4 separate regions of the Homo sapiens genome follow, and all the other regions are linked to region 4. The links are contacts of gene promoters, found by promoter capture Hi-C in blood cells and fetal thymus (Javierre and others, 2016). All regions are on one chromosome and are shown on one strand. Each heading gives the region's core, a stretch centred on a gene start or on the middle of the fragment in contact. The rest is flanking DNA. Distances are from core to core; before and after follow the strand shown.

What was found. The method cuts DNA at HindIII sites, captures the fragments that hold promoters and counts their contacts. A CHiCAGO score of 5 or more calls a contact.
Region 1: a fragment that was not itself captured here is called in contact with the fragment with the promoter of ELAC2 in region 4 in 1 of 17 cell types (M2 macrophages); the score reaches 5.2 in M2 macrophages.
Region 2: a fragment that was not itself captured here is called in contact with the fragment with the promoter of ELAC2 in region 4 in 1 of 17 cell types (M2 macrophages); the score reaches 5.5 in M2 macrophages.
Region 3: a fragment that was not itself captured here is called in contact with the fragment with the promoter of ELAC2 in region 4 in 1 of 17 cell types (endothelial precursors); the score reaches 9.6 in endothelial precursors.

What each region holds. Positions count from the first base shown.
Region 1 is chr17:12,068,585-12,074,015 of GRCh38, reverse strand. All of the region lies in intron 2 of MAP2K4 (mitogen-activated protein kinase kinase 4), which reads right to left. Among named protein-coding and RNA genes, the nearest start is that of MIR744, 11 kb to the left of the region's middle. The HindIII fragment of the contact is 742 bases long and covers 1,162-1,903 here.
Region 2 is chr17:12,130,528-12,136,407 of GRCh38, reverse strand. The region is part of intron 9 of MAP2K4 (mitogen-activated protein kinase kinase 4); the gene reads right to left. Among named protein-coding and RNA genes, the nearest start is that of MIR744, 52 kb to the right of the region's middle. The HindIII fragment of the contact is 1,152 bases long and covers 2,410-3,561 here.
Region 3 is chr17:12,162,926-12,168,201 of GRCh38, reverse strand. No RefSeq gene overlaps it. Among named protein-coding and RNA genes, the nearest start is that of MIR744, 84 kb to the right of the region's middle. The HindIII fragment of the contact is 954 bases long and covers 1,320-2,273 here.
Region 4 is chr17:13,016,128-13,022,208 of GRCh38, reverse strand. It overlaps ELAC2 (elaC ribonuclease Z 2), which reads left to right and starts at 4,182. Exons shown (of 24, transcript NM_018127.7): 1 at 4,182-4,506; 2 at 5,088-5,138; 3 at 5,277-5,347. The coding sequence starts at 4,262. RefSeq lists a silencer at 4,065-4,144 and enhancers at 4,665-4,724, 4,745-4,854, 4,366-4,866. The HindIII fragment of the contact is 8,738 bases long and covers 1-6,081 here.

The sequences.
Region 1 (5,431 bases), core at 283-2,782, 950 kb after region 4:
CGAATCACGAGGTCGGGAGTTTGAGCTCAGCTTGGCCAACATGGTGAACCCCCGTCTCTACTAAAAATACAAAAATTAGCTGGGCGTGGTGGTGGGCACCTGTAATCCCAGCTACTTGGGAGGCTGAGGCAGTAGAATCTCTTCAACCCGGGAGGCAGAGGTTCCCAGTGAGCCGAGATCACGCCACTGCACTCCAGCCCAGGCAACAGTACGAGACTCCGTCTCAGAAAAAAAAAAAAAAAAAATCTACAACGAGAAGGAAGAAATTCTGGGAATGACGGATATGTTAACTTGACTATGGTGATGGCATCACAGATGTACACATATGTCAAAACCTAGCAAATTATACGCTTTAAATATGTACAGTTTATTCTATGCCAATTATACCTCAATAAAACTGCTGAGAGAAGGAGAGAAAGAAAAAGAAGATTATCCTTGGGCTGCACTCTACTTGTCTGATACGGATTTGCCCATTACATGCCTATGGTTCAAAGGCAGATTTGAGATATCTAAGGCTTAGTATATTACAAATCAGAGCACTCACTGCTCCCATGGTAAATTCTCCTCTCTCCAATTTTCTTGGTCTCTAATACTGTATTCTGGACTGATAACAGCAATATAAAAATACAATCCTAAGTCTATACTGGGCAGCACTATACTGTTACTACAATCCTTCTCTACTTCCACCTAGTACACTTCACTCATAATGACACTTCCCAGATAAAATTCATCAGCATCCTCCCTCTTCCCATCTCTCCCCAGTTTTTTTCTGGTAGTTACCAGTGTGGGCAGGAGAAGAAATGAACATGAAAAGGGATGAAGTCTCTGCTATAAAAGAATCCCTGGGTAAAAATTTTCCTTATTCTGGCTGTGTTACTATTAGTATCCATTATCAGATCCTATAGGGAGTTAAGTCATCTTAATTTTCAGTGTTTCATATTTTCATCTTTGTTTCTTAATAAATATTTTAGCAGGACACTGCTACTCATATATCATTTTGTACTACAAACCTCAGATTGCTTTTACAAAGTCAGAAATTTAGTTCTTAAAGCAAATTAAAAACCAAGAGTCTCAACTACTTTTCATTTGTGATCTGTTAGCTAATTCTTAATACTATGTGAGTTGTGTTTTGAACACCTACTTATTAAACACCCTCAAGCTTACTTTTATTATTTTTGAGACACTTATTTAAACATGTCGATGAGAAAAGGAAAACAATTTTATAGAAATAAATTTTATGTATAGACACATTTAGGAACATGTGTATTTTACATAACACAAAGACCTGAAATCTAGGGTATTCATGAGTACCTTATACTGCTTAAATTTTAGCCTGTACATGTGAACTATGATCAACCAGCTCAATTTAATCCCAATCTATGCTTTATACCTGATTTTATTCTAGTTCCTTATGATATTCTTATCATATACTCATGACACTAACAGAAAAATTAAAAGTTAAAAGTCTAATTGTAGTTGGATTCAAGGGAATTTGTATCTTTCTATGAAGGTATTTAGGCATACAATTCAAATGTTTTGTTAAAGGAAGAAAATAAGAAAACTTTCATTCCCATGGCTTCCTATTTGATATTCAGAATATACATGGTCACAGACTAACAGAATTTGATTAGAAAGAAAACGCAGACTTCACTCTTGTCCTTCTAAGAAACTTCCTGAAAATACTGTATTGGGCTTCATGTTCCTCCTCTGTGCCCATAAATGTTGAAATCAAGATACACCTAGTCTGTTCCAAACTCCTGATCTACAGTCCTAGTAACACTTTCAAAAAAGTATATTAGGCTAGTTTGGAACTGCTTACTTACTCTTAGTGAACCCTAATTTGGATTAACCATTTCTATTTAATTCTTCTATGATCATCTCCATGAAGTCTGTATCAGAAGCTTCATTTCAAAGTGCGCAGGTGAGAATATAGGCAATATAAGGTGGCTTTTCTCTGCAGCTCCAGCGTCTACATTGGAATCCCTTGCCTACTATTTGATTCTTCACCATGTGAATTCATCACTTTTTAAACATTTCAGAATATACCCAAATACAGTAAATGAGACTTCCAGGGAATGCAAATAGATACCTACCACTGTTATTATGGTTTACAAATATGCCCATATGAGAAGAGGAAAATGTCACAGACCTTCTCTCCTGCCCAGGCCAATAGTTTGTATACTCCCACAATGACAAAAAGGCTCTCAACAAAAGCCAAATCTCAGGTTCACTGGTCTATACATTGGTGTGTACCTTCTACACTGCCACTCCTCTACTTGCTTATTAAGTCTACTTCTTTTGAATCATATATATATATTTCCCAGTGCCGTAATTTAGCGATGAGCCATTCCTCAAAACTGTGATTTTTGTTTTTGTGCCAACCATTTTTCATTAAAATTTCAAATTCATTTTGTTGTTTTTTTGGAGGTGGGAGTTAGGGTGAGAAAAATATGAAGAGACAAGAAGAGAACGATATGAAGCATCAGGCACTGGTCTTCATCCGTCTCCAGTGAATATTTTAGTACTCTTTCTCCTATGAATTTTCTAGTACTCCCTTTACTCTACTGCTTATGTTTGTGTCACAAAGGCTATCTTCTATGATTCAACTATGCCTCTATCACCTTGCCTTTGAAATGTGAGTTTAATATCTTCTCCAGCAGGTCAAAGGAAACACTAAGAACTGGCTATCCTTAATATACAATGTGATTTAAGAAGCCAAAACCCAGTTCTTCAATACCATCTGTAGTAGGGTGAACTATACACCACCCACCACACAAAAAAAAGATAGGTCCATCCAGAATCTCAGAAAGTAACCTATCTTTACGGATAAAATTAAAGATCTCAAAAAAGAGATTCTGGATTAGGTGGGCACTAAATAAAATAACTATCCTTATAGGAGACCAAACAAAGAAAAGGAGAAGATAGAGATGCACAAGACAGACACAGGGAAGAAGACCATAGAGATTACGGTTATGCTGCCACAAGCCAAGGAAGAGCAGCAGTACCAGAAGCTGAAAGAAAGGGGGGATCCTCCCCCAGAACCTTCGGGAGAAGCATGGCCCTGCCAACACCTTCAGATTTCTGGCCTCTAGAACTGTGAGAGAATAAATTTCTGTTGTTTTAAGCCACCAAGTTTGTGGTAATCTCACAGAAGCCTTGAAAAATCCAGTACACCATCTAAATCATGAGTCACAACCTTTTTCTGTAAAGAACCAGATAGCAAATATTTTAGGCTTTGCAAGCCACTAGTCTCCTGCAACTATGCAGCCAGATGGGTGTGGCTATGTTCCAATAAAACTTTACTTACAAAAACAAGCAAACAGGATGGATTCAGCTCATGAGCTGTAGTTTGCTGACTACATGATATAAATGATACCAAATGGTATCTAGCAACCTAAATTGCATCTATCATGCAAATAATCTAAATCATATTTTCTATATCCTTTTTCTCTTTTACATTTATAATTATGCTCTATATGATAAGCACCTTCAATTATCTGCCCAAATCCTATAGTTCTGTTTCCAGAATTTAATCTCAAGATACATTTCAGAATTTTTCTTGAAAATGGCCCACCAATCAACAGAGAGTGGAATTAGGGGCAGAAACCCTTCTAGGATTCTCTCATCACTTAGGTAAGTACGCTAAGATGGCAGCAAACCTCCTTGTTTAATATCCTGGACATCTCTCATATCTACCTATCTTTCAGCAAGTAATAGCTAATTATCTTAACAGATTTCTTTTTCCTGCACATGAGAACTTGATTTCTCAAACTTGACAATGTCTACTATTTTCCTTCAATAAATAAATAAATATCTTCTTGTGCCTAGAACCACTATCCGTAAGAACCTTTTATTATTTAATTAGTTTGAAGTATGTTTTCTCCTCTTATTTCACTATCACATTCTTCTACCTCGATCATCTGATCTTGATTTCTTCCCAATGCTATCAAATATACCTTCTTTCCCAAATCATTTCTTCCTTCTTTTTCCTAAGCAACTTTGACTGTATCAAGCCAGCATATACTAAAACGCCCCAAGCTGTTTTACTGTCTCCTCAGCATGCATATATATATATATATATATATATATATATATATATATATATATATATATATATATATATATGACTAATCTTCCTTAGACAGGAAAATAAAGGTAAGACATACCCTGCACATCACTGCAACTGTTCTTCTGTGTCCGTACTGTTACGATCTCTAGATGAATACTGCTTTATGCATCCTTCTGCAATGCAGCTCTGTTAATTCCGGAAATTTCCACAGTAAACTCGGTCTGTCAGTTACCATGGAAACTGCCTGCTTCCTGGCACTACCAACAAATGAGTATCTTTGCTGTGATCTAAGATGAGGCAAAAGGAAAAACTGAAAAATGAAATGTCCAGAAGAATGGCTCAAACATTCTAAATAGAAAATTTCAAATTCTGATACTCATATTTAGTGAACAGAATGTATTAGACAAATTAGATAAGTCTGCAGTATTCTGAAGTAGTACTGATTTATGACATACAAAGAAATGTTTTATCACCACAGAAAAGAGTAACATTAAAGAGGACAAGACAAACATTCATGTTTGCATCATGTTGCTATTGACTGTTTCCTAAGAGCTGATCCTGTGTCAGTTGTACTCTAAGTTTACCCTTAGAACAGTTTTTCTGGGCTATGCTTCTTCAAGAAAAGGTAAGGAAAACTGCCCTAAATCTATAGGTTACATGTTTTCATGAGATCCTTTCCCTGTTTAGGCCCCAATTTCCAGTGGCAGCTAAAACCTCTTCCCAAGTAAGTAAGAAATTAAGAGTAGTTTAAAGTGTATCTCAGGAGTTTTTGCCAACAAGGTAGCTTTACTAGCATTCTCAGAACATTAGACATAGCCAACCACAATTCCTTCCCAACTGCACTTTGAAACAATGCTAGATTTCTATAACATCATGCACTACCAGTTTGCTTCCTAATTATCAAGCATCTTTTAATTTTTGCCTGTCCCTCCTCTTCTATCCAACCTCTAAATGTTAGATTTTCTTGGGGCTCAGCCCTGGACACAATTTTCTCATCAAAATACATTCTCACTCTCTTCCTAGGCAACCCTTTCATCTATATGGCAGCAATTTTCAACTTTTTATCTCCAATCTACAACTTCACTTCTGGCACCAGACTCATATTTTCAACACCAGAGTATGTGATACATGCACATAAGCACAGAAACACATGTATACATAAATACATATACACACACGCTATATATATATATAATATATATATGTATGTTTTGATATCCCTAATAAAATGTCACAGGTCCCTCAAACTTAAATATTATCTAAAACTCGATCTTGCCCTATGACCCCTATTTACAGATGCTCCATACCCAGTAGTCTCCATCACAGTAATCGCAACTAAACCCATTAATTCAAGCCAGAATT
Region 2 (5,880 bases), core at 1,736-4,235, 880 kb after region 4:
GTTGAATGCAGCTATTGTTTTAATTTATGCTTTTTATTTCTAGAAGTTCTATTTGGTTCTTTATAAATGTGTTCCCTGCTTATATTTCTAAGCTGCCTCTTTTTCTTTAAACTTATTTTTTGTTTCCTTTCATTCCAATATTTGAAGCCTTTGCAGATCTATTCCTACTATCCATTGTTTCTGATTCTCATTTCTTTTGTGAGTGTTGAGATTTTTTTGTGGACTACATATTCCACTTGACTTTATTTTTTGGAATCATTTAGTCCTAGGCTGAATGATTTGCTTTTGCTTCTGCCCATCAACTGGGGGCAAGAGGAGCATATCTTTCCAACCAGGGACTCTGAAAAGTAATTTTTCTTAAAATTAAATTCTCTAAGTATTTTTACCATATTCAATATGAATTTAGATGGCAAATCTACATTTGCTTGGGTTATCCTTTAATTTACTTTGACTCTTCCTTCTCTCCCATAATCTCCCTCCCTGAATTTCAGTCAACTTCAGAGCTCCATGGATTCCTCAGTTTTGCACCAACTCTTTTACATTTTAAGAGGGACTTTAGGTGGGGCACGATGGTTCACCCCTGTAATGCCAGAACTTTGGGAGGCTGAGGCAGGCGGATCACCTGAGGTCAGGAGTTCGAGACTAGCCTGGCCAACGTGGCAAAACCCTGTCTGTACTAAAAATACAAAAATTAGCTGGGAGTGGTGGTGCGTGCCTGTAGTCCCAGCTACTCAGGAGGCTGAGACAGGAGAATCACTTGAACCTGGGAGGTGGAGGCTGCAGTGAGCCAAGATCATGCCACTGCACTCCAGCCTGTGCGACAGAGCCAGACTCTGTCCTAAATAAATAAATGGCACTTTAAAATGCTTATCCAGGCCAGGTACAGTGGCTCACGCCACTGTAATCCCAATACTCCGGGAAGCCGAGGCAGGAGGATCGCTTAAGCCTAGGAGTTTAAGACCAACCAGGGTAATACAGTGAAATCCAGTCTCTACAAAAATTTTTTTAAGAAATTAGCCAGGTGGGCCAGGCGCAGTGGCTCGCGCCTGTAATCCCAACACTTTGGGAGGCCGAGGCAGGCGGATCACCTGAGGTCAAGAGCTGACCAACCTGACCAACATGGAGAAACCCCAACTCTACTAAAAATACAAAATTAGCCAGGTGTGGTGGTGCATGCCTGTAATCCAGCTACTCTGGAGGCTGAGGCAGGAGAATCACTTGAAACCGGGAGGTTGAGGCTGCGGTGAGCCGAGATCATGCCATTGCACTCCAGCCTGGGCAACAAGAGCAAAAGTCCGTCTCAAAACAAAAAAGCAAAAAACAACAAAAAAACAAAAATTAGCCAGGTGTAGTGGCACATTCCTGTAGTCCCAGCTACTCGGGGGGCTGAGATGGGAGGATCGCTTGAGCCTGGGAAGTTGAGGTTGCAGTAAGCTGCAATCATGCCACTGCACTCCAGTCTGGGTGACAGAGTGAGTGAGACCCTATCTCAAAATAAATAAAATAAAAAGCTTATCCAGCATTTTAGTAGTTTCAGTGCAAGTGTTGTCCAAGATATCTAATGCACCAAAGTAATGTGAAGTAACCACATTCCTCCTGTTATAGCTGTTTCTCTGCTCTTCAGGTATTGCTGACTTGGTGTTTTGTGTACATTTGTGTGCATGTGTTTTAATTGAAAACTTGTCAAGTCTTATCTTTTCTCAGAACACATCTAGATGTGGCTTCCCTCTACTCTCTTGTTTAATTTGGTCTGGTATTTTAATCTAAGAACTTGAGTTATTCTTCAAGTAGAAGGAATTTTAATTTTAATTCTTTGTCTACAATCAGCTAAATAGAATATTTTGGATTTTTCTTCTCTCTTACCATTTACCTCATGTTCATCTTTTTAGCCCTTTATTCTTAAAGATTAACTAAACGGTGTTACTTACAGATCTGGTTAACCTGCAATACTCAATCTGCTGTGTGCCACCATTTTCCCCCATTCAGTTCAGGAATCATGTTTACTATCTGAAGATAACGTTTCTGGAATTCAAATTATTCCCTCCTTACAATTTTTTACCTTGTTTTTTTTTCTGTGACATTTTAAAGGAAATATTTGTTTAGATTTCTTAGGTACAATTCTCCGAATCACTGAAAGTTTTCATCTGTTAGTGATTTTTCTTTATCACAGTTAATCTCAGCTATGGATTCAGGTTAACTGTGAGAAACAGGTGGAGAGCCATCATTGCAGTATCATCACCTAGGTGGAGAGCCATCATTGCAGTATCATCACCTAGGTGGAGAGCCATCACTGCAGCATCATCACCTACTATAGGGATTTAATTTTTGCATTTGCTCTAACAGCATGCACTGTGCTCCCGCCCTCTAACCAACACAGGCGTTGTTGTTAGAAGTTATTTCAGCAAAGCTTGAGCTTTTCTTTACAGGTCTTGCTGCTAAGAGAAAGGCAGGAGTAGATACTACTACACTGTCCCAGCTGCCTGTGAGATCTAGCACAGAAGGCATTTCCTCAAGACATTTCAGGATCGAGCTTTACTGCCTAATTAGTTGCACAATTAGGCAGTCCCACAAGTTGCCTCTTCTTCCAGGTCTGCTGCCCAAGCTACAGAGTTGTATATGGGTCTTATATCGTCCTAGTGACTTTTTATATTCCCCTCTGCACACGATAAATTTTGGATTAGGCAATCCATCCCTGAATTCAGTCTTATCCCCATCCAGAGTTTCACAAAAATTCCTCAAGAATAACATTTTTTGTTTTTTCTTCCCCCAGGACAAATAAAGAATTTTTCCCCTAAAAAAAATTCCAATGGTGATTTCAATAGATAGTTAAATTGGGAAACAGTTTAAAATATGGGCTGAGATCTGAGGAGAGCAAAATCACTTGGTGACCACTGAACAGGCCCTAGAGACAAAAATTCCTTATCTGAGGAATGCAGAAGGAGCAAAAACCACCCGATGACTATCCAACAGGCAATCTAGAAGCAAAATTCCTTATCTGGGGAAAATCAGAAGTAATTAAACTTCCCAGCCTGGCGCAGTGGCTCACGCCTGTAATCCCAGCACTCTGGGAGGCTGAAGCGGGCGGATTACTTGAGGTCAGCAGTTCAAGACCAGCCTGGCCAGTGTGGTGAAACCCCATCTCTATTAAACATACATAAATTAGCCAGGCATGGTGGCATGAGCCTGTAGTCCCAGCTACTTAGGAGGCTGAGGCAGGAGAATCGCTTGAACCTGTGAGGCAGAGGTTGCAGTGAGCTGAGATCGCGCCACTACACTCCAGCCTGGGCGACAGAGCAAGGCTCCATATTAAAAACAACAACAACAACAACAACAACAAAACCCAAGAAGTAATCAGACTTCCCTATTATCTAAAGCAGGCATTGGTTCCAGATTTTTTCCCCAAAAAAACTTTGTAAGTAACTAGAATTTCTATACATCTCCAGAATGCCATGTCGAAATTCACTGTGCAACACTTGCTGACATTAAGGAACCAAAATTACTACAAATGTAATCATTTATTGTTACCTACATGGCTAATATGGTCCAAATTATCCTCAAGCTTTAAGGTCCATAAATACCCCTAAGGAAAAATCCACTGTGGCACGCTCAGCACCCTTCTGCACTCTTCTGCAGCATACTTTCTTTCTAATAAACTTTCCTTTTTCAAACCTATACTGTTGTCTGTAAATTCTTTTTATCAACCCACGAGTCGACCATTTCCCAATGCTGAGCGCTCAGACACCTCAGTCGGCAAGGTCTTCCTTTTGAACCATTAAGTCTTATCCTTTTTTTTTTTTCCTTAGGAAAACTTTTAATCGAAGCAGACATACAGAAAACACAACTCCTAAGTGCAGAACTAAAAAGTAACAATATTCTGACTTCCAATACCTTATATTGTTTGCTTTTAACTTTCATATAGAAATAGAACCATACATACTGCTTTCTGTCTTCTTTCACTCAACATCATTCGTGAGATTTACTGAAGTTGCTGAGTGAAGCAATGGTTCTATCTTCTCTGATGCTATATACTGCTGTATACATAATGCTACAATTTATTATCTGTTCTACTGTGGAGAGAGTTTCTAATTGTAGGTTATAAATGTGCTTTTCCGGACATTCTTACATATGTCTTTTAGTGTATTTATGTCCACACTTTTGTTGGGTATATAGTCAGAACTTGAATTGCTGAACCATGGTGTATACATCAACCATATTAGATCAGCTATACTGGATACTGCTTGTTTTTCAAAGGAACTGTACTAATTTATACTCCTACAAGTTATGTATGAGACTTCCAGTTGCTTCAGATCCTCACCAATATTTGGTACTGTCAGTATTTTAAACTGTGGTCATTCTGGTAATTATAGTGGTATTTCACTGTAGTTCTGACCTGCATGTCTCCTGATTACTAATAATGCAGAATGAATGCAGTAAATTGAATATGTTTACTGGCCTCTTGAATATCATCTTTAAAGTGCCTTTCAAGTATTTTGCTATTTTTGGTTGTTATTTTTCATAAGTGTTTTACATTTTTAAGTATTCTTTACATATTCTGTGTAAAAGTCCTTCGTCGAATATAAGTATGAAAAATATCTCCTTCTACTGTGTGGCTTGGCATGTCATTCAGTGCTGTCTTTTAATCAATGGAAGTTCTTAATTTTAATGAAATCCATTTTTTTTTAATCAATCTTTCTCTTAGGTTTGGCTACTTTCTACGTTCTGTTTCAGAAATCTTTACCCAAACGTAATGAAAACATTCTCCCATATTATCCTGTATGTGCTTTTAATTTATGTAACTGAAGAAATTCAGTTTGGCAGAAACCATTCAAGGAGAGGGAAGTCATGAGAAATGTGGCTAGAGCGGGCCGGGGGCAGTGGCTCATGCCTGTAATCCCAGCGCTCTGGGAGGTCGAGGCGGGCAGATCACGAGGTCAGAAGTTCGAGATCAGCCTGGCCAACATGGTGAAAACTGTCTCTACTTAAAAAAAAAAAATTAGCTGGGTGTGGTGGCAGGTGCCTGTAATCCCAGCAGTACTCAGGAGGCTGAGGCAGAAGAATCGTTTGAACCCGGGAGGTGGAGGTTGCAGTGAGCTGCGACCACATCATTACACTCCAGCCTGGGCAACTGAGACTCCATCTCCAAAAAAACAAGAAAGAAAAAAAAAAAAAAAAAGAAATGTGACCAGAGCAATAAACTAAGTCCAGATCGTAATGGGTTCTGAAAGCCTAAATTAATTAATTTTAAGGACAAGAGGAAGTCTCTATAGAATAGTATCTCTCAGTATTTTTTTCATTATTTATCCTCCCCATCATGAAATTTAAATATGATAGATATAGTGCATATCTGTTTATATTCTATGGCCCTTTGGAGGACTAAAAACCATTATACAACCTAAGATTTTCATTTCTCCAAAATCAATTTTTGCCTCCTTAGGGTCAATATCACCCTGCTAAGAATGCATACTTTAGATAGAGAAGTAACATGATCAGATATACATCATAAAAAATACAACTCTAATAAAAAGGGGAATAATTTGGAACAAGACAATATTGGATTATAAGAAAATCAATATTGGATTATGAGAAATCTGAATGATCCAGGTTAGAGATTACAGGCAATGTCCAAGACAAAGAGTGGCAGAAAGAATGGACAAATGTGGAGAGCTAATATGAGCATATTATGAACATAAGTACACTTCAATGTAGACCTTAATGATTTGCAATGACATGGAACTATGAACCTACTCAGGGAAAACAATGGGACTCCAATGTCTAAAACTGTCACTCTATTATGGCATCAAGGGAAACAGAAATAAACATGTACAAGTACCAACACATACAGAACAAAACCAATAAAGAGATCAAGGAGTTAAAAAGAAA
Region 3 (5,276 bases), core at 547-3,046, 850 kb after region 4:
ACCAGCCTGAGCAACATGGCAAAATCCTGTCTCTACAAAAAATAAAAAAAAATTAGTCAGGTGTAGTGGTGCATGCCTATAGTCCCAGCTACTCAGGAGGCTGAGACAGGAGGATCTCTTGAGCCCAGGGAAGAGAAGGCTGCAGTGAGCTGATTGTGCTACTGCACTCCAGCCTGGGTGACAGAGTGATACTGTGAGGAAGGAAGGAAGGGAGGAAGGGAGGAAGGAAGGCAGGAAGGCAGGAAGGCAGGAAGGCAGGAAGGAAGGAAGGCAGGAAGGCAGGAAGGAAGGAAGGAAGGAAGGACCTAATAATTCTGTTCATAATAGCATCAAAAAATAAAATAAGGCCAGATGTGGTGGCTCATGCCTGTAATCCCAGCACTTTGGGAGATCGAGGTAGGAGGATCATTTGAGGCCAGGAGTTCGAGACCAGCCTGGCCAACATGGTGAAACCCCATCTCTACCAAAAATACAAAAAAATAGCTGGGCATGGTGATGCATGACTGTAATCCCAGCTACTTGGGAGGCTGAGGCACAAGAATTGCTTGAACCTAGGAGGTAGAAGTTGCAGTGAGCCAAGATCATGCCACTGCATTCCAGCCTGGTTGAGAGAACAAGTCTCTGTCTCAATAAAATAAAATGAAATAATAAAATAAAAAAGTAAAATAAACAATAAATAAAATAAAATCTTTAGGAATACATTTATCCAAAAAAGTGCACATCTTATACCCTAAAAACTATAAAATATTGTTGAAAGAAATTAAAGAAGACCTAAATAAATGGAAAAACATCCCATATTTATGGATTGGAAGACTTAACATTGTTAAAATGATAAACTGATTCCCAAACTGATCTAAAGAATGAACACACTCCCTCTAAGAATCTCAGCTGACTTCTTTGTATAAATTGAAAATTTTATCCTAAAATCTGTATAAAATTGCAAGTGATCTAGCATAGCCAAAGGATATGATGTGTGTCCCATCCAAATACGTTGAAATGAGATCTCCAGTGTTGGAGGTGGGGCCTAGTGGGAGGTGTTAGATCATGGGGCAGATCCCTCATGAATGGCCTAGCACTATCCCCTTTGTGATAAATGTGCTCTTGCTCTGAGTTCACATGAGATCTGGTTGTTTAAGAGTCTGGGACCTCTCCGACTCTCTCTCTCTCTCTTGCTCCTGCTCTTGCCATGTGACATGCTGGCTCTCCATCACCTTCCACCAGGATTCTTAGCTTCCTGAGGCCTCACCAGAAGCTGATGAGCCTCACCAGATGCTGATATACTTCATCTACAGCCTACAAAACTGTGAGCAAATTAAGCTTTTCTTTATAAGTTTTATAAAGTTTTATAAAGAAGTTTTATTAACTTTTTCTTTATAAATTACTCAGCTTCAGGTATTTATTTATAGAAACACAAGAATGAATTAATACAGATAATTGGTACCAAGGTGTGGGGCATTGCTACAAAGATACCTGAAAATGTGGAAGTGGCTTTGCAACTTGGTAATAGGCAGAGGTGGAAGAGTTTGGAGAAGATGATAGAAAGATGAGGGAAAGTTTGCAATTTCTTAGAGACTGATTAAATTATTGTGATTAAAATGCTGAAAAAATATGGACAGTGATGTCCAGGCTGATGAGATGGAAATGAGGAAATAACTCCAGTTATTGGAGTTATGCCCTATCAACTGGAGTTACCCATGTTATGCCCTAGCAAAGAACTCAGCTGCATTGTGTGCATGTTTTAGAGATCTGTGGAAATTTGAAATTAAGAGTGACGAAATTTCATAGAAGAAATTTCTAAGCAACAAAGTGTTCAAGAAGTGGTATGGCTGTTTCTAACAACCTATTATCAGATGTGGGAGCAAAGGAATGACTTAAAGTTGCAACTTATATTTAAAAGGGAAGCAGTGTCAACATTTAGAAATTTTGCAGCCTGGCCTTATGGTAGAGAAAGAATCCAAGCAGGCTGTGGAACAACCAGTTGCTAGAGAGATTAGCATGACTAAAAGGGAGCAAACTGCTAATATCCAAGACAATGGGAAAATAGTCTCAAAGGCATTTCAGAGATCTTCAAGGCAGCCCCTCCCATCACAAGCCCAAAGGCCTAGTAGGAAAAAATGGTTTCAAGGTTCAGGACTGGGACTCTGCTGCTCTACACTACCTCAAGAGGCTGCACCCCATAACCCTGCTGCTACAGCTCCAGCTGTGGCTCAAAGGACTTCAGGTATACCTTGGGCTCCCACTTCAGAGCATGCAAGCCATAAGCCTTGGAAGCTTCCATGTGGTGTTAAGCCTGTAGAAATACAGAATGCAAGAATGAAGGAAATCTTGGTTTGGCATCTGCCAGCTAGATCTCAGAGGATGTATGGAAAAGCCTGGGTGCCCAGGCAGAAGCCTGCTACAGGGTTGGAGCCCCCATAGAGAAACTCCAGGGCAATGCTGAGGGGAAATGTGGGGTTGGAGCACCCTACACAGAGTCCATACTAGTGGAGCTGTGGGAAGGGTCCACCACCCTCTAGACCCCAGAATGGTAGGTCCACTTGCAGCTTGCACCCTGAGCCCAGAAAAGCTGCAGGCACTCAACTCTAACCCACGAGAGCAGTCACATGGGCTGTGCCCAGGAAAGGCACAGGGATGAAGCTACCCAAGGCCTTGGGAGCCCATCCCTTGCACCAGGATGCAAGATACAGAGTTAAGAATTATGCTGGAGCTTTAAGATTTAATGCCTGCCCTGCTGGGTTTCAGACTTGCATGGGGCCTTGTACCCTCTTCTTTTTGCCAATTTCTCCCTTTTGGAATGGGAATGTTTACTCAATGCCTGTACACCACTATTGCATCTTGGAAGTAAATAATTTGGTTTTGACTTTGCAGGCTCATGGATGGAAGAAACTTGACTTCAGTTTCAGATGAGACTTTGGACTTTGAACTTTTGAGTGAGTTGATGCTAGAATGCTTTAAGATTTTGAAGAACTTTGGGGAAGGAATGATTGTATTTTCCAATGTGAAAAGGATGTGAGATTTAGGGGGAGCAGGGGAAAAATATATGGTTTGGATGTGTGCCTCCTCCAAACTTCATGTTAAAATGTGATCTCTAATATTGGAGGTGGGGCCTAGTGGGTGGTATTGGATCATGGGGGTGGATCCCTCATGAATGGCATGGCACCATCCTCTTTGTGATAAATGGGCTCTTACTCTGAGTTCACATGACATCTGGCTATTTTTAAAAGTCTGGGACCTTCCCCCTTTGTCTCTTGCTCTCCCTTTGCCATGGAACATGCTGGCTCCCTGCTCCCTGTCACCTTCTGCCAAGATTATAAGTTTCTTAAAGCCTCACCAGAAGCAGATGCTGGCACTATGCTTCCTTTATGTTCAGCCTGCAGAACCTTGAGCCAATTAAACCTCTTTTCTTTATAAATTACCCAGCCTCAAGTATCTCTTTATAGCAACATAAGATGGACCAATACACTAAATAATCCTGAAAAAGAACAAAGGGGGATGACTCATACTTCCCAATTTCAAAACCTACTGCAAAACAATGATAATCAAGACAATGTGGTACTAGTACAAGGACTAATATATCAATAAATGGAGTAAACTTGAGAGTCCAGAAATAAATCCATGCATCTATGGCCTACTGATTTTCAGCAAAGTGCCAAGACTGTTCAGTGGGGAAAGAACAGCTGGATAGCTACATACAAAAGAATGAAGTTGGTCTCTTATTTTACATCAAATACAAAGGTAACTCAAAATGAGTCAAGGATATAAGTGTAAGAGTTTTGCTCTTTATAGTTTTAGACTATAAAACTCTTAGGGAGAACAAAAAAAGTAAAGAAATCAAAATCCTCATATACTGCTATGTGAGAATGTGAGATTGTACAGCTGCTTTAGAAAACAGTCTGCCAGTTCCTCACATGGTTGCACGTAGTGTTAACATATGGCCCAGAAAATCCACTTCTAGGAATATTCATAAGAAATGAAAACATACGTCCACACCGAAATCCACACATAAATATTCATGCAGCATTATTCATAATAGCCAAAAGGTGGAAACAACACCACAAATGTTAAGCAACAAATAAATGGATTTAAAAAGTGGTATATTCGTGTAATGGAATATTATTTAGTCATATTCATATTCATACAATGGAATATTATGTAGTCATAAAAACAAATGAAGTACTAATATATGGTACTTACATGAACTCTGAAAATCCATTAAGAAGCCAAACATAAAAGTCCACGTATTATCTAATCCCATTTGTGTGAAAGTCCAGACCGGGGAAATCTATAGAAGGAAAGTAGATTAGTGGTTACTTAGGACTGGGCAGGGTTAGAGTGAGAGAGAGCTTGTCAGAGTATGTGAGTTTTTTGAGGTAATTAAAACATTCTAAAATTGACTGTGGCAATGGTGGCACATATCTTTGAATATACTAAAAACTGTTAAATCGTACACATTAAATGGCTGAATTATGTGGTATGTGGATTATAGTTCAACAGAGCTATTTTTAAAATACATATGGAGGAAAAGGGTGTCAAGAATAACCAAGATACCTGTTAAGAAGAGCAGAGAGAGGGGATCAGATATGAGGATTTATTATGGAGCTGTAATAAAGACAGTGTGGTATTAGTTCAGGGATAAATAAATTGGTCAATGGAATAAAACTGACAGCCTAAAAATGCATGTATGTTAGGAACATTTTCATATGATAAATATGGAATGCATGATCGATATGAAAAGAAGTAGTTGATTGTTTAACAAATCGAGCTGGAAAAAATGATTTTCACATGGAAAATTTGAAATTGAATTCCTACCACACACCGTCTACAAAAATCAATTCCAAATGGATTTAGGGCTTAAACTCAGGAATAGAACTTTAAAACTCTCAGTATAAAATACAGGGTAAATGATAAAGAATAGAGAACCCAGAAATAAAGCCACATACCTACAGCCATCTGATATTCAAGGAAGTCAACAAAAATAAGCAACGGGGAAAGGACACCCTATTCATTAAATGGTGCTGGGATAACTGGCTAGCCATATGCAGAAGAATAAAACTGAACCCCTACCTTTCACTGTATACAAAAATTAACTCAAGGTGGATTAAAGATTTAAATATAAGACCTCAAACTAAGAATCCTAGAAGAAAACCTAGGATATACCATTCTGGACATCGGCCTTGGGAAATAATTTATAACTTAGTCCTCAAAAGCAATTGCAACAAAAATAAAAATTGACCAATGGGACCTAATTAAACTAAGGAGCTTCTGGACAGCAAAAT
Region 4 (6,081 bases), core at 2,933-5,432:
TCTCAAACTCCTGACCTCAAGTCATCCACCCGCCTGGGCCTCCCAAAGTGCTGGGATTACAGTTGTGAGCCATCGTGCCCAGCCCAAAGTAACTTTTGTTTCAAAAACCAATTATCCCTCTGATGCATTGTGGCCATCAAGTTTGGAGTTGTTGGGTTTCTAGGGCTCTAAACCAGAAACACCTCAGACCCAATGAAGACAAAAGCATCTATTATAATGTTTTCCTGTGTGCCCTGGGGCCCCATCCCTGTGCCCAAGACACCAACTTTCTGAGCTTTCTGAGAGCAAGACCTTGTTCATCTTTCTGTACACCAAGGTCTTAGTACAGCATCTAGAACCCTAGAAGAGTGTCTAGAAACTCGTGTGTGTGTGTGTGTGAGTGTACTGAATGAATCAATGAATGAATGTCTGTGTGGAGAAAGCCAGAGGGTATTTCAGACAGGGTCCCAAAGTATGTGTCCCTTGGTCAGATCACCAGATCTTGGGGATCGCAGGAACTGCCCCAGCTTTGTAGGTACAAAAGTCTGATTTATAAATATACCCAAGAGATGGCCACATATGAGTGGACTAGCTTATGGCAACCATACTTACAAGCGTGTACAGAAGAAAGTCAAGTTATAAATTATACCTTTGTAACTACAGGCATATGAAAATGTACTGCTCCCAGCATTCATTGGCCAGATTATTCTGCCTGGCAGCCATCTCTTCATAGGACCCCCCCGTAGGATAATCAGAGGGTTCCAAGAAAGCCTGGACTTTTCCACGTCAAGGGCTCTTTTGCAATGTGACTTTGATACTTCTCCCCTCAAGAGGTAGAATATAATTTTCCTCCCTTTGAATCTAGGTGGGTGCTGTCTGTGTCTTGCGTTGACTTCTGGGCCTAATTCTTCAGAAGCATTGCAATTTCATTTCATCCTTTTGGAGGCTGACCACCATTCAGAGAAGCTCAGCCTAACTACTGAATGTGGACAGTCTACATGGATGGAGAGGCAATGGGAAATGAACCAAAGCACCCCCAGCAGGGCCAGTACCCAGGACCCACACCTGTGAGTGTGAGGTTCCACTCCCATTGAGCCACCCAGCAGCCACTGCAAGGAGCAGAGACAGGCTATTCTTACTAAACACAACCGTGACCAACAAAAGGACTGAAAGTGATTTCAAGCCACAAGCTGCCCATATACAAAATGGATAACAAAAAGAGACTCAAAGCAAGAGGAAGTGGCTGTATTATATTAATTGTTAATATCACTGACTTCTGAAAGTCTGTCGCCTCGATTTCCACTTTCTCTGCTGTCCCGATGGTCAGGCTGCCTCTACTCCAGCAAGTCCAGAGACACTTTTCTGTTTCAGACTCTCTGAACTATCCTTTTGGAGGTACCAGTCACACCAATCCCCTTCAGAAAACACATACATTGTTGTCTTGATTCAATTTTAGGCCCTGCTTAGTTGTAAACTGAAAACCTCATTTAAGCTACTGGCTTGCTTCTAATTTCCTAGTATTTATTGTCTGCCACAAGCCAGACTCTGTCCTAGGAGCTAATGATACAGCAGAGGACCAGATAGACAAATCCCAGGCTCATGAAATTTACATTCCAGTATAACCTCAGATTGAAGAAGTACTAGCTATTGTCTTCATATACCAGGAATAAAAATATGACCCAAAGCATAAGTGCAGAAAGTACACTGGGCCCTAGAAACAACCTAAATAGCATCCAGCCCTCAGAATTTTATATAAGTCGATGACCAAAAGTGATTCCTCCTATAATTTTGAGATAAGTAGTTTGAGATTACCCAACAGATAGATATGCACATAGGGCACCAATAAAATAGAGGAACCAATGTATTTTTGTTTGTGAAATTTGATATATTTTTTAAAAGGATCAAAGCAGTCATCACAGGAAAAAAATCAGTATTTTATTTATTGCACTACACTTTTTAAAAGTAGTTTTAATGAATTAATTTTCTTTTTCTTTTTTTTTTTTTTTTTTTTTTGTAGAGAGTGTCTCACTCTGTCAGCCAGGCTGGAGTAAAGTGGTATGATCATAGCTCACTGCAGCCTCAAACCCCTGGGTTCATGTGATCCTCCTGTCTCAGCCTTCAGAGTAGCTGGGACAACAGGTGTGTGCCACCATGTCCAGCTAATTTTTACTTATTTTTAAATTTTTTAGTATTTTTTGGTAGAGATGAGGTCTCGCTTTGTTGCCAGAGCTGGTTTGTTTGTTTGTTTTTGAGATGGAATCTCCCTCTGTCACCCAGGCTGGAGTGCAATGGTGTGATCTTGGCTCACTGCAACCTCTGTCTCTGGGGTTCAAGTGATTCTCCTGCCTCAACCTCCCCAGTAGCTGGGATTACAGGCCCATGCAACCACTCCCGGCTAATTTTTGTGTTTTTAGTAGAGACGGGGTTTCATCATGTTGGCCAGGCTGGTCTCGAACTCCTGACCTCAGGTGATCCACCTGCCTCGGCCTCCCAAAGTGCTGGGATTACAGGCATAAGCCACCATGCCTGGCCACAGAGCAGGTTTTGAACTACTAGCCTGAAGCTATTCTCCCGCCTTGGCCTCCCAAAGTGCTGGGATTACAGATATGTGCCACGGTGCCCAGGCTTTAAGCAACTTTTAAAAACTATCATTTTTATTTCAAATACTTATGGAGATGGTGGTATGATAATCTTTTCAGTTTGTAACGCCCTCTAACTGTGTAAAGTAGATCTGAAGTGTTTTCCTGACCCTCACTGGGATGGTTATTTCAAGTACAAAACGTTTTCACACCGTGGGTGATAATCTTCCATAAAAAATTTCATATTTGAATGAAAACAGCTCAAGAAATACACTAATGAGCAAAAATATATGGGGAAAGAGGAACGTGTAGTTTTGACTTAACTGAAGAAACCAAGAGGAAACTGGTCTCCATATGAAAATGTGATCCTGGAAAGTCAGGTGTCAAGATTTTCGAGTAGGAATCTACATGACTTGAATCTCCCTTACTTCCTGAATAAAAGTGACATCTTTCAGTATTTATTTAAAAAAATCATATGTCAGTGGAGCTTCCAGGTAAATTATCTTTAAAAAATCATATTTGAGTGGAGCTTCCAGGTAAATTATCTTCCTCTTTTAAGGGAGCTCCCTGTATTTCTAGCGGCTTTAACTGATATCCCTTTCAGTGAGAAATCCTCATTAGCTACATAAGAGGGGACTGGGTGTTTTTTTCAAAAAGCTGGTATTGGGACATCTACCTCTGTGATGTCCCTGGTCAGCTATATTGTCTAGGAGTTGAAACATTTTGTATTAATTTTCTATCATTTACTGGGTGCCTCTTCTGTGACAGTGCCACTCAAAGGTCTATTGATATATTATCAGGTGACTGAATTCTATATTCTGAAGTAGGAGATACTGTTATTGCTGTTATTACATTTTACACATAAGAAAGCTGAGGCTCTGAGAGGTCAAGATCACGCAGCTAACAAATGAGCCAAGACTCTTGCTTTAGAGCTTGTCCTCTATTCTTGCTTTTCTTTCCAAAAAACACTACAATTTTTGTTTTGTTTTGTTTTGTTTTGAGACAGGGTCTCGAGGTGTCACCCAGGCTGGAGTGCAGTGGCGCGATTTCGACTCACCGCAACCTCCGCCTCCGCGCTTAAGCGATTCTCCTGCCTCAGCCTCCCAAGTAGCTGGGACTACAAGCTCGGGACACCACGTAAAAATGATCAAGTTCTAACATGTATGCATACGAATTACAATGGAAATAAAATTAGCAAAGCGCTTATGCTAATGCTCAATACAATTGATTTCCTCACATTTAATCCTCACAACCACTACAACCACCTCTAACTCAAGCTCTGAGGGACTGACGTGCCCGGAGGACACAGCTCTTATCTGGTGAGAACAGGAGCGTTTTAGCGAAACTCCAAACTCCTAGGTCCCGCCTTCCCCAGGAAGGCTTTTCCTGGCACTGTGCTTCCGGAAGTCCCGCCCCAGGAGAAAAACAGCTTCCGGAAAAAATTGCGGCCGGCAAACCGGAACAGAACTAGGGGCGGGGCCGCTTGAGACGCTCTAGTATTCCTCTACTCTATGGCCACTGTCAATTGACAAGTCCCGAGCGGTAAAGCTCCTTTCTATTGGATGAGCAGCCTCGCGTAGGCGGGAAGCTCGGTGCACGGCGCGCTGATTGGCTGGATCCGCCATGCGGAGCGGCTAGGTGGTGCACGGGAAACGCGGGCGTAGGTGACCGGCGGCTTTCTCAGTTTTGGTGGAGACGGGCGCATGTGGGCGCTTTGCTCGCTGCTGCGGTCCGCGGCCGGACGCACCATGTCGCAGGGACGCACCATATCGCAGGCACCCGCCCGCCGCGAGCGGCCGCGCAAGGACCCGCTGCGGCACCTGCGCACGCGAGAGAAGCGCGGACCGTCGGGGTGCTCCGGCGGCCCAAACACCGTGTACCTGCAGGTGGTGGCAGCGGGTAGCCGGGACTCGGGCGCCGCGCTCTACGTCTTCTCCGAGTTCAACCGGTCAGTCAACGAGCCACGCCCCGTCCCGCTGGGCCCTCAGTGCGGCGCAGCCTCTGAGCATCGGGGCACCTCCCAGGGCTTCGGCTTCCCTGCTTCACACATGTGGTTCACTGTTGCGGGGGTTCGTGGAGTTATGGTGGGTGGGAAATCCGAGATTCTTTGCATCCATGTGATTTCTGCGGATCTGTGAAGAACTTCAGGCCTGGGTCTGAGCGTCCTTTTCCCAACCCTTGGGCCCCGGCCTGGCTGTCAGCACTTTCGGAGCTCCACCCTCTTCCGTGCACCCCAAGGCCAGTGTGTCGTTGTTAGCGTGTGGGGTGGACAGATCTGGTGTGTAGCCGGTGGTGGAGAAAGGACTCATTTTGTCCTAGCACCCACACACACAGGCCCCCACTCCTCTCCACCTCTGCTAAGGAGGGCTCAAAACCCACCAGCATAAATGTGGCTCGGTAGTCCAACGTGGACTTTTAATTTTTTTTTCTTTTTTTTTTTTCCAGAGTCTACAATAAAACATCTAATTGGTGTCAGAGAGTTTACAGAATAAAACCTTCTGAATGTCTTGTGTAATGTTTGTCTTGTAGGTATCTCTTCAACTGTGGAGAAGGCGTTCAGAGACTCATGCAGGAGCACAAGTGAGTCAGTCTCTTGCTTTCGGAGGGGGAGTTGATTACGGGGCTTGAAAGCCGAAATGAGAGGCCAGTTGTTTTTTATAGCAAAAGTGGTCCTTGTTCTGTTCATGTTATCCTGTTTAAATGTTTTTTCATTCTTAGGTTAAAGGTTGCTCGCCTGGACAACATATTCCTGACACGAATGCACTGGTCTAATGTTGGGGGCTTAAGTGGTGAGTATATTCTTTGCAGTGTCAGAGGCTGGTGGGAAGTCTCTGGGATTTTAACCGGCTTTACCATTTTTCCAAGTCTGGGGTGGGCAGCTACTTTTTTTTTTTTTTTTTTTTTTGTCAGTGGCGTGATCTTGGCTCACTGCAACCTTTGCCTTCTGGGCTCAGGTGATCCCCTCACCTCAGCCTCCCAAATAGCTGGGACCACACGTGTGCCCCATCACACCTGGCTAATTTTTTTTGTATGTTTTGTAGCGACGGGGTTTTGCTATGTTGCCCAGGCTGGTCTCAAACTTCTGCGATCCTCCTGTCTCGGCCTCCCAGAGTGCTGGGATTACAGGCATGAGCCACCGCACCTGGCCTGGAATTCTTTTTATACCAGCCCAGTCAGCAGCAGCACAGAGCATTAAAAGCTGTGACTCAGGAGAACAGATTTTAATATGGATACCACCTCTTAAGTGTTACCATCCACTTAGTTTCTTGCGTTGCGGGGACAGAGATTTGTGGCAGTAAACTGGAGAGTCTAGCAGTGGTGATTACAGTTAATATGTTTACCGCAGACGCCATTGGCACATTGGCAGCCACACACATACCCACTGTCCAGATTACCCTGTCATTTATGTCTATCAACCGGAAGGTCAGGATTGTGTTGCAGCCAAATTGTGTGGGCTTGGTGGCATGGACCGGAAGGAGTGAAGTGTTAGACCAGTCTCCCTTCTCAGGGCTGAGACTAGGGT